Regions from separate parts of the Homo sapiens genome. Here all the other regions are linked to region 1. Evidence: promoter capture Hi-C in 16 types of primary human blood cells and fetal thymus (Javierre and others, 2016). All regions are on one chromosome and are shown on one strand. The core of a region is centred on a gene start or on the middle of the fragment in contact, and the rest is flanking DNA. Distances in the headings are between cores, read along the strand shown.

The links. The method cuts DNA at HindIII sites, captures the fragments that hold promoters and counts their contacts. A CHiCAGO score of 5 or more calls a contact.
Region 2: a fragment that was not itself captured here is called in contact with the fragment with the promoter of SEPTIN3 in region 1 in 4 of 17 cell types (naive B cells, naive CD8 T cells, total CD8 T cells and 1 more); the score reaches 7.3 in naive B cells.
Region 3: a fragment that was not itself captured here is called in contact with the fragment with the promoter of SEPTIN3 in region 1 in 5 of 17 cell types (activated CD4 T cells, non-activated CD4 T cells, total CD4 T cells and 2 more); the score reaches 6.7 in activated CD4 T cells.
Region 4: a fragment that was not itself captured here is called in contact with the fragment with the promoter of SEPTIN3 in region 1 in 1 of 17 cell types (naive B cells); the score reaches 6.1 in naive B cells.

The regions. Positions count from the first base shown.
Region 1 is chr22:41,968,108-41,970,727 of GRCh38, reverse strand. It overlaps SEPTIN3 (septin 3), which reads right to left and starts at 1,285. Exons shown (of 12, transcript NM_001363845.2): 1 at 1,051-1,285. The HindIII fragment of the contact is 14,934 bases long and covers 1-2,620 here.
Region 2 is chr22:41,717,752-41,720,371 of GRCh38, reverse strand. MEI1 (meiotic double-stranded break formation protein 1) reads right to left here. Exons shown (of 31, transcript NM_152513.4): 6 at 2,098-2,301. Among named protein-coding and RNA genes, the nearest start is that of MEI1, 20 kb to the right of the region's middle. The HindIII fragment of the contact is 1,832 bases long and covers 335-2,166 here.
Region 3 is chr22:41,740,938-41,743,557 of GRCh38, reverse strand. MEI1 (meiotic double-stranded break formation protein 1) reads right to left here. Exons shown (of 31, transcript NM_152513.4): 12 at 364-478. Among named protein-coding and RNA genes, the nearest start is that of MEI1, 43 kb to the right of the region's middle. The HindIII fragment of the contact is 2,151 bases long and covers 205-2,355 here.
Region 4 is chr22:41,825,587-41,828,206 of GRCh38, reverse strand. It overlaps CCDC134 (coiled-coil domain containing 134), which reads right to left. Exons shown (of 7, transcript NM_024821.5): 7 at 1-2,509. The coding sequence ends at 2,384. It overlaps SREBF2-AS1 (SREBF2 antisense RNA 1), which reads left to right. Exons shown (of 2, transcript NR_157279.2): 2 at 1-726. Among named protein-coding and RNA genes, the nearest start is that of SREBF2, 6.2 kb to the left of the region's middle. RefSeq lists an enhancer at 1,572-2,078. The HindIII fragment of the contact is 9,332 bases long and covers 1-2,620 here.

The DNA.
Region 1 (2,620 bases), core at 36-2,535:
TAGAAAGGCGGGAGGCTAGACCTGAGCTGGGGCTGTTCCTACAGAAGGCCCAAAGGTGAGAAAGTGTGGCATCTTTCTGAAAATCCAACATGGGGCTCCTAGGCTGTATGTAGCAGGGAGGGGAGAGCCAAGGCTGCAGGTGAGCTGGGGTCCAGGCCAGGCTACAGCAAAGTTTAGGCCAGGGAATGTGACCCATTCCGATCTGTAGGTGGGAACGGCCACTCGGGCAGTGTGACAGAGGGATCAGATGGGAACAGAATTGAAGCCAGGATCCCATGAGGACATAGTTGAAACTCTCTGCTCCGTGGGCTGTGCAAGGGGCAGAGCTAGGGCTGGGGCTGGAGGAGGCTGCATTGCACAGGGGTAGAAGTGGCGGGACTGCCCAGGGTAGGGAGTGGGCACAAAGAGGTGTCGAGGATGAAGCTCAGGACTCTGGCTGTGGTCTTAGTAGATGGGCCACTCCCTGCTACTCTGGACTCCAAGTAACTCACCCTCTAGAAAAAAGTTGGTTTGGTTGCTTTTAACACAGCAGGCTGGGACCTGCAGCTGGGGGACAAGGCCAGGGCTGGTGGGAGGAGTCAGTTCCAGAGGGCTCATGGGGAGGGGAGTGATCATGTAGCCAGGTCCTTGAGGTCTGCAGCAGGGACGGGGAAGGCAGGGCACCGGACAGGGAAGGCATCACCCCTCACAATGGTGCCCCCAGCCCCTCATCCCTCTCCAGCCATATATTTGTATCCAAGACTGTCCTGGCCTCCAACCCTTTCCCACCTGGCCTATCACTGCAGCCCTGAACTTCTGCCCCCTCCTGCACAGCCACATCCACTTGGGCACACACGTTTACCCTGCACTTAGCCACAAACAGCTCCCCTCAGTGTGCACACCCACACACAGAGCAGGCCAGAGGACAGGGTGTCCGAGGGCATCACCCGACTCCCCATCCCCTCACTGCACTCCCATCTTCCATGGATTGCTTGGTCCTTCCCCACCCCACCCCCACCACCCTCCCACCCCCACAAACCCCCACACCCTTCCACCCCCCTACACACCTACCTTGATCAGAGGACAAGAAGGATCCAGTGTGTCTGGGAAGATAAGGCACACGCAGGCCCCTCACCTCCCCTGCACTCAGAGTCTGGCCATGGTGGCCAGCTTAGGGGCCTTGTCCCTCTGGTCCCCTCCTCAGCTCCTGCTCAGCCTCCAGGCCACAGTCCCCAGGCACAGGGCCCAGCCCTCTGCTCACTGTCCCACCAGCTACATCCCCGGAGACCGTGCTGGGCTGGGCTCTGGTGCAGGGAGGGGCTGGCTTCCTAGGAGTGGGCGGCTGTGAATGGCTGCTCTGAGCCTCTGGAATCCTGAAGAGCCATGGGAGGCTGGTAACGGCCAGGCTGGCACTCACGGCCACCTGCAGGGAGGTTCCCTGCAGCCTGCCCTCCCCAAATCTGCTCTGTCTCCCACAGACTTTGATGCCTGGGGAGTCTGCAGTAAAAACAGGGGTACTCCAAATATGGCTGCACTCTGGTAGTCCCAGCGCGAGTCTCCCTCTGGCTCTGCCTCTGTGCCCTTCATGCCCTGTTCAGCTCTGCAACCCTCAGACCATCTTGCCCACTCACCTGGTCTTTCCTCAAGGGGGCTGGAGTTCCTGGAGGCTAGAGCTCCTTCCACAACTATTCCCTGAGCCCCAGCTTGCTCCAGCTGGACCCTGTACCCAGACCCTAAGGGTGTGAAGAGGACCCCGCCCTAGGCCTGCCCCTGAGGGGACCACAAAGCCACCCAGCCTGGCTCTGGCAATGCCGACTCTCAGCAGCCCCTGGCCCTGGGGCTGGGATGGGAGCCCTCTTCTGTGTTCCCACAGCCCTCGGCTGCCTCTGTCATAGCAGTGGTGATAATAACAATGGTGCTGATAACAGCTACTATTTCCTGAGCACTTGCTCTGTGCCCGGCACCATGCCAGGGCTGGGCGGAGCTCACAGTCTGCTAGGAAGATAGGTATGTAAACAGATCCTATAGTACTGTCCTGTACGGTGATGGCAGATGTCCTCCGAGCACTCACCCTGAGTCAGGAACTAGGCTAAGCATTCTCCTGGCATCTCCTTTAATCTCCGCCTCATCACCTGCTTTTTACCGAGGAGGACATTGCAGCCCACACAACACTGTGTTGTCTGGTCTGCTCTCCTGTGTGTCTCTCTCTTTAGCGAGTGAGCTTCTGGAGCTGCGCTGGGCAATACAACTTTCAGTGATAATGGAAATGTTCTATGTCTGTGCTGTCCAGTACAGTAGCCACTAGCCACAGATGGCTACCGATCACTTAAAATGTGTCTACAGTGACCAAGGAACTGGATTTTTTAGTTTATTTTAATCTGTGGCTACCATATTAGCTCAGCTCTGTTTCGTTTGTTGTTGCTGTTGTTGTTATTAGTTTTTTTGAACAGGGTTTCACTCTGTCGCCCAGGCTGGAAGACAGTGGCGCCATCATGGCTCACTGCAGCCTCTTGGGCACAAGTGATCCTCCCACTTCTGCCTCCAGAGTAGCTGGGACCACAGGCATGCACCACCACGCCCAGCTAAGTTTTTATTTTTTGTAGAGACGGGGGTCTCCCTATGTAGCTCAGGCTGGTCTCGA
Region 2 (2,620 bases), core at 1-2,500, 250 kb after region 1:
TGTGGTTAGGTGAGCTGTAGGACTGCCAAGGGCCTCACCCTAGGGCCTGTATTTGCACCCTTTTGTTCTATATGCACTAACTCCAACACTGCCCTGCTGCAAGTTACCGCAGATACAGGCTGCTTCATACCTCGTGCTCTGGCCCGTGTTTCTGCCTTCCTCCTCTCCCCCCCAATTTAGGACTCAGTCCAGGCATCCTTTCCTTTAGGAAGCTTCTCCTGTCCCCTGCTCCTACCCTCTGCTGTGCACCTCCAAGATGGCACTCATCACACTAGACTCTAGTTGTCCATGTGTGTCTTCTACACTGGCCTGTGAGCTCCCCTAAGATAAAGCTTGGATTTGATCATCTCTGTGACCTCAGAGCCCAGCACAGGGCCAGCTATAGAACGAATGCTCACTATGTATGGCTAGGTCATTCATAACAGAGCTCCTGATCCAAATTTTGAAAAGAAGCTGCTGTCACCAATAGACTATGCTTTTCTCTACAGCTTCTACCTGAGAACAGGCCCTCAACCAGGCACCAATTACAGTGCCCATCTGTTCTGCCCAAAATAAGAAATCTCCCTGCTTAGAACAGTTGATAGACCTTATGTATTTATGTAAAAAAATAGCAGGAGAGGACGTTAAAAGGGTATGTTGGGGCTTCTAAAGAGCCTCAAGTAACAAGCAGAGAAACCTAGTGCCATGGTTTGAATGTGTTCCCCAAAGTTCATGTGTTGGAAACTGAATCCCCAATGCAGCGGTATCAGGAGCTGGGACCTACGGGTGGTGTTTGGGTCATGAGTTTGGGGTTTGGGTTTGGACCCTCATGAATGAATTAATGCCATCACCATGGGAGTGGGTTTGTTATCATGAGAGTAGGCTCCTCATAAAAGGACAAGTTCAGGCCAGGCACAGTGGCTTGCGCCTTTAATCCCAGCACTTGGGGAGGGCAAGGTGGGCAGATCACCTGAAATCAGGAGTTCGAGACCAGCCTGGGCAACATGGTGAAACCCCGTTTCCACTAAAAATATAAAACTTGGCCGGATGTGATGGTGGGTGCCTGTAATGCCAGCTACTCAGGAGGCTGAGGCATAAGAATCACTTGAACCGGCCGGGCGCGGTGGCTCACGCCTGTAATCCCAGCACTTTGGGAGCCAAGGCGGGTGGATCACGAGGTCAGGAGATCGAGACCATCCTGTCTAACACGGTGAAACCCCGTCTCTCCTAAAAATACAAAAAATTAGCTGGGCATGGTGGCAGGCGCCTGTAGTCCCAGCTACTCGGGAGGCTGAGGCAGGAGAATGGTGTGAACCCGGGAGGCGGAGCTTGCAGTGAGCCAAGATTGCGCCACTGCAGTCCGGCCTGGGCAACAGTGTGAGACTCTGTCTCAAAAAAAAAAAAAAAAAAAAAGAATCACTTGAACCGGGGAGGTAGAGGTTGCAGTGAGCTGAGAAAGCACCACTGGACTCAAGCTGGGCAACAGAGCAAGGCTCTGTCTCAAAAAAAAAGAAAAAAGAAAAAAAAGGACAAGTTCAGTCCCCTCTAGCTTTTTCTCTTGCCCTCTCTTTGCCCTTCCACCATGGGATGACAGAGCAAGAGGGGTTTCACCAACTGCCAGCCTCTTGATCTTGGACTTCCTAGGCTCCAGAACTACAAACCAATAAATTTCTGAACCAATAAGTTTTTCATTATAAATCACCTAGTCTGTGGTATCCTGTTATAGCAGCATAAAATGCACTAAGACACCTAGGCTTTACCCTGGAGGCCAGAGGGAACCATGGAAGAATTTCTGACTTAAGAAAGTGACAGGACGTGAGCTATACAATGTAAAGATTAACTTGCCAGCAAATACAGGATGCACCAGGGCAGGCAGTAAAGGCAGAAAAAATTGCTGTCCCACTTTCCTTCCTATTTTCCTCCAAAGGCAACATTCTTAAGATGTCATACCAACTCTAGGCATCTTTCACACAGTGTGTCTCTTATCTCTCAAGCCTTGTGGCTTCTACCTTTTGCAAAACAGCAAACTTCCCCACTACTAGAGAACCCAATATCTCAAGTCTTCTAGCAAAATGTCAAAAACTTATTCTCCCTTTTTTCTCCAGCCTCATGTCTTACCCAAGCAGTTAATCTGCAGCTCCTTTGTCTGGGCACCATCCAGGATGGAAAGGAAGAGGGGAAAAAGCTTCTCACGGAAGTGTCCTGAAAGCATCTCAGCTGCCACTGGTGAGGAGTATAGCTTCCCATAAAGGTAACAGACAGAAGCTTGTATGCCCTCACTGGGGTATACTAAGCCTCTCAACAGATGCTCCATCAGGTTGCCTGTCCAGAAAACAACCAAGGAGCCAAGGGAAATTTCACAATGTCAACTGCTATATGAAACTCCAATCTATTATTCCTAACGGGGTAGTAATGGTAAGTCCCTATAATCCCCCACAAAAAATGCTTTCTGCATGCTTAATCTAAAGGCAAAACCAAACTGGGCACAGTAACTCACACCTGTAATCCCAGCACTTGGGAAGGCCAAGGCAGAAGGATCACCTAAGGTCAGGAGTTCGAGACCAGCCTGGCCAACAAGACGAGACCCAGCATCTACTAAAAATACAAAAATTAGCCGGGCATGCTGGCACACGCCTGTAAT
Region 3 (2,620 bases), core at 31-2,530, 230 kb after region 1:
TTAAATAATTTTGTGAGCATGTTTACCCTATCTGCTTATATGATATAAACAGAGAATGTGTGTAATAGACTGGGGTAAAAACACCCTGGAATTTACTGTTCTAGGCTTAGGTACTTTATAGTTTTGGACCTTAGAGAAAAATTATTTAACCCTCGTGGCTTTAGTTTCCCCATCTGTAAAAATGACAATAGTAATCCTTAAGCTTCATAGTTCTGCTATTAGGGAAAAAGCATCTCATTGTAGCCATGTGTGCATGAGAAAAAGTCATGAAATAGCATACAAAAGTAAGGGAATATACTAATTATCTTTCTAAAAACACACTGCAGCATGATCTTCGGAAGCAGCAGGCTGCAGTACACTGACCAGGGGCCTCCTGCTCAGCAAGGTCTGGGAAAACTCCGCACATCGGTTTAGCATGGCTTCTAGCAAAGCCTGCAGTTCCCCATACTGCACAGGTGGAGTGCTCTGATGGTCCTTCCTGCATCCAGAGAGACAAAAGCAGGTTCACGGTAAGGCAACGGTATTCCCAAGATAACCCCAGGTTCTCAGGCAATGAGAGGCAGTGCAGTTGGATCAGAACATGGAATCTAATCTGATAAAAATCCTTACTCCAGGCCAGGAATGGTGGCTCACGCCTGTTAATTCCAGCACTTTGGGAGACTGAGATGAGTAGATGTCTTGAGTCCAGGAGATGGAGACCAGCCTGGGCAACATGGTGAAACCCAGTCTCCACAAAAATTAGCCAAGTGTGGTGGCATACACCTGTGATTTCAGTTACTCAAGAGGCAGAGGTGGGAGGATCACCTGAGCCCAAGAAGGTAGAAGCTGCAGTGAGCCGTGATCATACTACTGCAATCCAGCCTGGGTGACAGAACAAGACTTTGTCTCAAAAAAATCCTTACTTCAATGCTTATCTAACTGCACAACTTCTTGTACATTCCTTGCCCTCTCTAACCATCAATTTCCTCATCTATTAAATGAGGCTAATAGTACTCTCCTCATAGACTTATTATGGGGATCAAATTCGATAATGTATGCCAAACACTTAGCATGATGCTTAATACGTAATAAGTCCTTATAAATGTCAGCTGTGTCTATTATTACTATTAAGGATACAAGGTTTTCTCGCAGAGGAGAGCCTGCTGGTAAAAGAAGCACTACCTAGAATTGAACGTGCATCAAGAGAGTGACAGCTACTGTTTTCCAATAAGTAATAAGCTCTTCTGGGGAAGAGGGATCAAACTTTGTTAACTCAACGAGGAAAACCAGGATCAACAGGTAAATGTTACTAAGATCCAGAGATGGAGTCTCACTCTGTCACCCAGGCTGGAGTGCAGTGGTGTGATCTTGGCTCCCTGCAACCTCCATCTCCCAGATCCAAGCAATTCTCCTGCCTCAGCCACCTGAGTAACTGGGACTACAGGCGCACACCACTACACCCAGCTAAGTTTTGTACTTTTAGTAGAGATGAGATTTCACCATGTTGGCCAGGCTGGTTTCAAACTCCTGACCTCAAGTTATCCACCCACCACAGCTTCCCAAAGTGTGGGATTACAGGCATGAGCCACTGCACCCAGCCTGAGAACTTTCTTTTCTCTTTTTTTTTTTTTTTTTTGAGATGGAGTCTCGCTCTGTCACCAGGCTGGGGTACAGTGGCGCAATCTAAGCTCACTGCAACCTCTGCCTCCCGGGTTTAAGTGATTCTCCTGCCTCAGCCTCCCAAGTAGCTGGGACTACAGGCGCACGCCACCACACCCAGTTAATTTTTGTATTTTTAGTAGAGACGGGGTTTCTTGACCTCATGATCTGCCGCCTCAGCCTCTCAAAGTGCTGGAATTACAAGCGTGAGCCACCACGCCCAGCATCAGCCTGAGAATTTTCTGAGTCAAAGTCTATAGAAGTATTGGGGACCATCTCTAGGGAGAAGTGATTCCCCATTCTATGAGACTATACGCAGAGACTGGAAAAGTACTTTTGGAGATTCAATCATTATGAGTGTGGGGTAAATGTAGACAGGTAACACCTAAGGCCCATTTGAACCCTCAGATTCTATAGACTCAGAAGAGCCAACAGTCATTGACTAGTTTAATTGTGAGTTTCCAAGAGGAAAGGGACCAGTTCCATCTTTTCACTTTACCTAAACAGAGACAGATGCATTGTAAGTTGATGATTAATAGAACAGATGTCAAATGAATGAATGACTATTTCACAGGGTATTGGTTTCTTAGGGCTGCTATAATAAATTACCACAAACTGTGTGGCTTAAAACAACAGAAGTTTATCCTCTCACAGTTCTGGAGGCTAGAAATCTGAAATTGAGGTGTCGTCAGGGCCATGTCCCCTCTAAAGCAAGCTTGTCCCACCCACAGCCCACAGGCCGCATGCAGCCCAGGACAACTTTGAATGCAGCCTGACACAAATTTGTAAACTTTCTTAAAACATTATGATATGAAACCCTGTCTCTACTAAAAATACAAAATTTAGCTGGGCATGGTGGCGCGTGCCTGTAATCCCAGCTACTCGGCAGGCTGAGGCAGGAGAATCGCTTGAACCAGGGAGTTGGAGGTTGCAGCGAGCCAAGATCACATCACAGCACTCCAGCCTGGTGACAGAGCAAGAC
Region 4 (2,620 bases), core at 79-2,578, 140 kb after region 1:
GCTGGTCCCAAGTTGCCCAGGTCTTGCCACCACACTGGGCTGGCTTCCCCATTGCTCTGCAGTTGCCCAGCTCTGCTTCAAATTATACAAATCCTGCTAATGACAGAGCCCGTAGAAGTTATTCAGTAGAAAGAACCTCCAGCCGAAGCTGGACCCACCACTGACTGTCCTGAGGTATGCTTTAGCCTCCCTGCCACCCCAAGAAAGCTAGGTCTGCTGCCAACCAGGCCTGGTTCTTAGAAAGTTTTTTCTCCAGTTAAGGGGAAAGCCAAGCACCTTCTCTGCTAAGTCAGCAACCACAACCACTCTCTAGCATGAAAAGGACAGCGACTGGCCTGGTCCTTCCGGCAGGGAAGAGCTTGCGGGCTGGTCCTGACACCCAGCTCCAGCTGCTGGCACCAGGACAGGTTAAACAGCTGAGCCAGTGAATCTGACCCTTTCCCGTTGATGCAGGAAAATAGGGTCTGGAGGCAGGGAACATAAGGCCAATTCACGCTTCAGCTATAACAGGGAATATCCTCCCCATAGGGTATATGCTGTAAATGAATTTGTAAATTTACTTCATCCTTTCCATTTACATAGGGTGTACCTCAAGTAACCAATGGAATCCTCTAGTGGGTATTTACTCCCAAAAATTCTGTAACGGGCCCCTTGAGTCCCTATGCTCAGGCCCTCTCCCATGCTGTGGAGTATACTTTCATTCTCAGTAAAACCCTTCATTCCTTCCTTGCTTTGTGCATTTTGCCCAATTCTTTGTTCAAGACATCAAGAACCTGGACACCCTCCACTGTTAATGCCATGGACCAGCCCTTTAGTTCACAGACTCGGGTGTCCATGTGGCTGGGGTCACACAACCTGAGAAGGGCAGGGTGGAGATGAAACTATGTCTGTTGAGTCAGTCCCACCACACTGCCCTGCCTCCACTGCCCAGTGAGGGGCCTTCTGATGGGGAAATTTCTCCAGCACTCCTCCCAGCCCCCACACCCAGCTCTCTTCCAGCTGCTTCTTGTCCCCTTACTTCCGAGTAACTGATGGGTGCAGGATGTTCTGGGCCCTTCCATGAGGCTTCTCTAAGGCTTGGCTTCCCTTTGCTGCTGCAGCCCCGTAGGGAGGCCAGCCTCAGAGAAACAGGTTAGGGCTGGGCAGGGGATACAGATACCATCAAATTCATTTTGCCAATGAAGCTGCAGCACAGGGAGGGGTGGGCCAAGGCCAGTCAGCAAATCTGAAGGGCTAACACTCAGATCTCACTTGTGCTCTGTCAGTGGTAGGGGGCTGGGTGTCGAGGGGATCTGGGATGGTTTTCTCTGCTCCTTTAAGAGGCAGATCCTGACTTGGCAAGGTCAAAGAGGCAGAGCTAGAATTCTCACTAAAGCCCTTCCCTCCTCTGCTTGGGAGGGGCATGAGTGAAGGGCAGCTGCCCTACCCAGGGCCACATGCCCTCTGCAGCTTCCCTGCCCTGTGGCCTCCCGAGACGGGAAGCTGTCTGACCCATGCAGCTTAGGGCAGCCATTGCGGAGCACGGCCTCCTGCAGGGCTGCGGCCTGTCCCCCTGCAGCCCCCCACCCACAGGTTGACTGTCTTCCAGCGCTGCCAGAGAGAACAAGCTGACTTCCCTGTGCTTGCTCAATGACTGTCCCCAGACATCTGAGGACAGGGATCATGTTGCTCCAAGGTCTTCTTGAGCTAAATGTTTCCCAGGTCCCAGGGCACTTCCAGGTCCTTTCCCAACACCAATCATTTGTCAAGGGCAGTGATGGCGTAGGACCAGGAGGCCCAAGCCAAGCCCCTTCCTTCTCTGCCCTGCCAGGGCCTGGGGCCCCTCCTGGTGGGGCAGAGGCATCCTCCAAGCTGTTTCTACATCCCTGAGGGGCCCTGGTCCCCTCACAGTGTCCCCACCAGCCTTGGTCGGTCCAAAGGGTCTGCTGGCTTTTATTGTGTCTCTGCAGAGGGGCTGGGACCTGTGCCAGGCAGCTCTGTGACACAGTGGGGCCAGCAGCAGGGTGGCACCCTGACCCGTGGCTCAGAACCTAGTTCTGCTGCTTCCCCACCAAGGGCGGAAGCCAGCTGGCCAGAGGTCTTCAGCCACCAACAGGGTCCAGGCAGGCATCCTCCTGCCTCCCCCAGCAGTCTGCACAGGGTCATATTTCCAGCATAAAATCCTCTGAAGGCCCCTTCAGCAGGAGGCCCCTGAGAGAAAATCCAGCCATCTGAGGCTCAGTCCCTTCAGCTGGGGCTCAGACCCAGCTCCAGGGGGCCGGGCAAATGTGGCCTCCCCTTCTGGAAGGGGCTAGCTGGTGCTCTCCACCACAACCACACCTCCACCTCTTCTTCCTCCCGACCTGCCTCCTTGTGGCCCCCTGAGCCCTGAGCTGCTCCAGGGCTATAACTCAGACTGGGATCTGGAGATCCTTGGGCCTTTTCGGATCTCCTTCCGCTTCTCCTCTTTCTTTCGGCGTTTCTCTTCTTCTCTCAGGGCCTTCTGGAAAGGGTCAGTGCTGGGAATGAACTGAAGGGAAGAGAAGAGCAGTCTGATTTAGTCTGTGGCAGCAAAGAGCCTGCTCTGAGCTAGGCCACCAGCGGGGTGTGGGAATAGGAAGGTTCCCTGGACACAGGCCCT